Linked DNA regions of Homo sapiens: region 2 is linked to region 1. The links are contacts of gene promoters, found by promoter capture Hi-C in human tissues and cell types (Jung and others, 2019). All regions are on one chromosome and are shown on one strand. The core of a region is centred on a gene start or on the middle of the fragment in contact, and the rest is flanking DNA. Distances in the headings are between cores, read along the strand shown. Region 1 holds the start of SCN4A (sodium voltage-gated channel alpha subunit 4). Region 2 overlaps TEX2 (testis expressed 2).

Evidence for each region. Contacts are between HindIII fragments. The study calls those that stand out against the background at their distance.
Region 2: a contact is called between a fragment that was not itself captured here and the fragment with the promoter of SCN4A in region 1, in 3 of the 25 tissues and cell types used here (mesendoderm cells, spleen and thymus).

Annotation. Positions count from the first base shown.
Region 1 is chr17:63,971,663-63,974,362 of GRCh38, forward strand. It overlaps SCN4A (sodium voltage-gated channel alpha subunit 4), which reads right to left and starts at 1,256. Exons shown (of 24, transcript NM_000334.4): 1 at 907-1,256; 2 at 690-808; 3 at 474-563; 4 at 60-188. The coding sequence starts at 1,179. The HindIII fragment of the contact is 21,993 bases long and covers 1-2,700 here.
Region 2 is chr17:64,253,219-64,255,918 of GRCh38, forward strand. All of the region lies in intron 1 of TEX2 (testis expressed 2), which reads right to left. Among named protein-coding and RNA genes, the nearest start is that of TEX2, 8.7 kb to the right of the region's middle. The HindIII fragment of the contact is 4,207 bases long and covers 1-2,700 here.

The sequences.
Region 1 (2,700 bases), core at 6-2,505:
GGCCTGGCCCCCTCCCCTCACCCACCCCAGCCTCAGGATGTCCTGGGGCCCCTGCTCACGCCATCATGATGACACTGAAGTCCAGCCAGTTCCAGGGGTCCCGGAGGAATGTGAAGTCGTCGACACAGAAGCCTCGGGCCAGTATCTTGATGAGGGACTCAAAGGTGTAGATCCCTGTGAAGGTGTACCTGGGGGGGAGAGGGCCGGCCGGGACAGGCATGTCACCTGGGTAGGGGTCAGTGTGGCAACGACAGACCCCCAGAAGGGAGGGACACAGAAATGAAATATGCCACTCAGGTGGCTAAGGACACTAGCGAGTGATAGCATGGCCACCCCAGGGACTCAAGGTGTGGATGAGGGTCACAATGACAGTGTGTCTCCCTGAAAGACAAGAGCAGCACCACACAGAGGTGCAAACACCTGAGATGGGCTGTGTCCCAGGGCTGGGGAGCTCAGGGAGCAGGGAGACTTACTCCACATTCTTGGACCAGGGAGGCGGGTCACTCATGGTCATGAATACGCAGTTGGTCAAGATGGTGATCATGATGAACATGCTGAACAGCGTGGGGCAGGGTCAAGGAAAGTGAGGAAGCAGCTAGGATGGGAGGTGATAGAGGGTCTCCTGGGCCACAGCACCCCATCTCGCCCATCCCTAACCCCTCCCGCCTCTCCCATCTTGGGCAGGATATGCATGGATGAGCACCTTGATGGCCCCGCGCCTGACTACGCTGAAGGGGCTCAGCAGGTAGAGAGCAGGTGTGGCGGAGAAGCGGAAGATGGCCTTGCCCTTGTTGAGTACGATGAAGGTCTAAGGTGGGAGAGAGGCTGTGAGACCCAGGGACAGACAGACAGGCAGACAGATGGATGGATGGCAGACAGACAGAGGAAGCCTTCCCAGGCCCAGACCTTCTTATTGCTGTAGTAGGGATCCAGGTCCTCCAGGGGGATGCCGATGACCTCCGGCGGGGGGTCTCCGTAGATCATGGGTAGGTTCTTGCCAGCCTCCAAGTCACTTCGTGGCTTCCGTTCGGGCTCCTCAATCTCCATCTGCTTATTCCGCTGCAGCCGGGCCTCCTCCTCCACCGCCCGCTGTTCTATGGCTGCCAGTGACTCCCGGGTGAAGGGGCGCAAGCACTCAGGGCCCAGAGGCACCAGGGTGCACAGAGATGGTCTGGCCATCCTCGCATCCTGGGCTCAGAGACCAGAAGGGTGGTGGGTGGCCTGGGGAGCTGCAGTGCGCAGCCCCGGGGTGCTGGGCGGCCGCCCCTCCCTGGGCGGGCCGTCCACTCCTCACCTCCTGCTTGCCCAGTGGCCGAGCCGGGGAGGTGGGCGTGCAGACTCTATCAGGACTGGGAGATGTGCCTGCAAGGTGCTGCTGCTGCACAGGTGCTGGGCACAGAGCATCACCCCTGGCCCCCCCACCACACTTTCCCCAGAAGTGGCAGCGGCTGCCCTCAGGACCGACGGCAAACCAACCAGATTCTTTGTGGCCTTGGGACTTGGGGTCAACACCCCAGTGCCTTCGACTGCCTCCTGGGCCCAAGCTCCGGGAACTGTGTGGCTTCAGCCTAATGGGACAGAGAGAGAACCACAGCTGGCTGTGCTCAGGCGACCTCTGGATAGGCCAGGATGAGGGGCCTGGTTGGGGGGTTAGATCAAAGTGGGACTGGCACAGGGACTTCACCCTGAGGGCCGACGTGGATCCTGATATTGGCCACCTGGAGATGTAGGTGGAGACCATGAAGGTGGCAGCCAGGCTCTGTGCAAAAAGGTTGCTGTGATTGATTAGTGATGTCTGCCAGGGGCGCAAGGAGGAAGACCGTGGTGCCTCTGCCTGTGTTTGCCATCCCTGGCCTGGAGGGAAGGGAAAAGAAAGATGGGGGTGGGTGTGGATTCCTCTTTCCTGATCTTTGGGGTACTTGGTGTTGGGCTGGGAGAGGGAAGAAGAAAGGGCCCTGGGCCCGGCAGGGGTCTCCTAGCAGTTCCCTCCCACAGCCCTGGGGGCTCTAGCCCACTGGGCAGGCAGGGTGAACTGGGAGAGGAACATTGCATCTGGAGAGCTGCAGGTGCTAACGTGGAAGAGAAGACGTACAGGGAAGGTCACAGGGACAAGGAGATGGACAACTCCAATGGTGGGGGCAGGGCTAGAGCTCCTGGGGACTGCTTTTGGCTGGTGGTCCCAGCACAAGCTGGATTGGGGGAAGGGGCATCCACAAGGAGCCTTTGATGCCTGTGAGCATTGTGTGGTCTGGGCCCCACCTGGCCCCTCTCCCCTTCTGCCCAGCCCTCCAGAGCCTATTCCTGTGGAAGGGAAGGGGGATCACTTATTGCAAATGGCCCTGGGGGAATGACCACATCAGCAGGCAGTTGCAGTGAGACCCCTGCAGACCAGCTGCAGGCAGCCACTGCCAGACCCACATGGACAGACCTGGAGCCACCCCTGCACCACAGGGACCTGGACAGACCCCTAGAGACCCCCAAAGCCACACCTGAGGGTGGACCTCTCCCAGTGGGCCTTGACCCTTGCAGCAGCGCCCCTGCCCTGGTCAGCACGGGCGCTTCTCAGGCTTGCTCAACAGGTGGGGAGGGTGGCCAGGGAGAGGCCAGAGCCACTGGGCAGAGCTGGCCACGCCCTTGTGCCTGGCTCCCAGCTGCTCCTTACAGCACCCAGGGAGTCGTGTTTCCACGGGGATGACTCTG
Region 2 (2,700 bases), core at 149-2,648, 280 kb after region 1:
GCCTCAACCTCCTGGGTTCAAACAATCCTCCCACCTCAGTCTCCCGAGTAATTGGGACCACAGGCACAGGCCACCAAACCCAGCTAATTTTAATTTTTCCTTCTTTCTTTCTTTCTTTTTTTTTTTTTTGTAGACAGGGTCTCACTATGTTGCCCAGGCTGGTGTCGAACTCCTGGGCTCAGGCAGTCCTCCCACCTCAGCCTCCCCAAGTGTTGAGATTACAGGTGTGAGCCACCATGCCCGGCCATGATAGGAATTTTTTAAAGACCACTCAGACTGCTGAGAGGTGAAGAGATTAGAAAGGAGTAGAGGTAGATGAGGGCAGGTCAGTGAGGGGCTGCTGGAGTATTCCAAGCAAAAAGATGGTTGTTTGCACCAAACTAGAACAGTGGCAGAGAAGCTTCAGAGAAAAGAACCATCCAAGAGTCGTTTATAAGATAAAAATCAGCAGTATTTGGTGCAGGACTAGATAAGGGCGAAAGGAGGGAGGTCGAGCTTGCATTCGTAGTGAGGAGAAATGTCAATTACCTCTGGCAGAAAGCACAGGCTGAACAAACTCTGCAGCTCACTGGCACTGCACTTCCCTCGGCACCTATTTTTCAGAATTTCTAGAAAAATTTCAAGCCCATCTCTTATTTACTCCTAAATCTATTCCTGAAACTGTCATCCATTTTTAACACATTTATCAAGCATCTACGATGCTCTGGGGATAGAGAGGTGACCAGCAGCTCATGCTCTCTGCGTCTGTCTTCTTTGAGCCCCTGGGTGTTGCCTAGAGGCAGCCTCTAAACCCTCCTGGCAGCAAACACAACTCCCAAAGCTGGGGCTCATCTTACCTTCTGAAACCTTCATACAAGCCACTTAACAGACGCCTCTCTACCTCTTAGAGACATTCCGCAATGCAACAAGCAGCTTGAGTTCTTTTCACTCAGAGATTCACTCCTCATTTCATAATATTCTGAGCCCCAGGAGACATCATAGCATCAAATCAAAACTCCCCAGGTCTTTGAGCCTTGCTCTTAAAGGAAGATCATGAGTCCCACCAGGCAGTTCTTCCTTCTACTACATAATCAAACTCCTTTTCTCTAAAATGTACTGAGTTTGGAACCTACATGCGACTTGTGCCCTTTGATTTGTTGCCCAGATTAGTTTGTGCTGGGCTCTATCCTATCACCAGGAATGGTGGTTTAATAAACCCTGGAGCTATACTGTCCAATATGGGCACATGGAACTATTTAAATTAAAATTAAAGCTTCGGTTTCAGCTTAATTAAAATTAAAGCTTCCAATTCTCAGTTGCACTAACCACCTTTCAAATGTTTAATGGTCTGTTGTACCATGATGCACAGAGGCACTGCTACAGGGTTGTTTGCATGTTTGATGTGAATTTCCCCTTTAAAAAATAAAAATGAAATTCAACATATAGAAACTTTCGACATATTAACTTGTGTCCTGTTTCATGCTACAAGTGAATACTATAAATTGAACTTAAAGTAACATATGCCACTAAAATACTGCTTCTTAATCAGTTTCACAGTTTGGGCTTTGTGTAAAATTCATTTGCTAAGAATGTTTGAAAATAACCTGTGACTTCATCATGGGCTCATAATTTTATGAGCCACTGTGGACAAACACTGTCCTTTTTTGTTTGTTTGATTTTTAGATACAGGGTCTTATTCTGTCACCAACGCTGTGGTGCAGTGGTGCCATCATGGCTCACAGCAGCCTTGAATTCCCAGGCTTAAGCAATCCTCCTCCCAGCTCAGCCTGCCAAGTAGCTAGGACTACAGGTGTGTGTCACTGCATCTGGCTTTTTTTTTTTTTTTTTTGTAGAGGCAGGGTCTCACTATGTTGCCTAGGCTGGTCTCAAACTCTTGGCCTCAAGTGATCCTCCACTTCGGTCTCCCAAAGTGCTGGGATTGCAGACATAAGCCACAGCACCTGGCCTTTAAAAAAAAAAAATGTACCTTGCACACTGCCCAGTACAGTTGCTACTTAGTAAATACATAGACTAACTGGTCATCTTGAAAGCACTCTTAATTTTATATGCCTACTTCTCATACACAAGTCTGTAAGAGGTTTCCACTAAATGTTCATTTCAGATTCTGAATTTCAACTACCTAACACCAGCCCTATAATTATGCAGTGTGCAGGCATTTTTTTCTCTAGAATATCTACCAAATGATTTTATAGTCCAAAGACACATTTATACTGTGACAGAAAATCCACCAACAATGCTTCATTGTGGAACTATCTTGGAACAAGATTAGCAAAAGTTGATAATTATCAAAATTGAGTAATAGATGCCTGATATCCATTATATTATTCTTCACTTTTGTGTATGTTTTTTAAAATTCCAGAGCAAAAGATATTTTGAAAAACTTAGTCAATTATATACAAATTTGATGAGGCCTCACACATACTTTACAAGATAACTATAACTTAAATATGGCTGGGTTCATAGCACTTTATTGACTATCCCAAGCCAGTGACCTGTTTCATGAAGTCCTCTCCTTGTATGGTCCTGAGGCGTGGTTGTTCCTTTGAATGGGGAAACATCATCAAATCTCGCTGGAGATGGGGTTCAGGCAGGTTTTGCACACAGCAACTCCGAGTTGTCATGTTTGACCACCTGGCTGTAAGGCCAGTAGTCTCTGTCTCCTCTTATCAGGAAAAAAGGTGAAAGATCTGCCCGCATCCA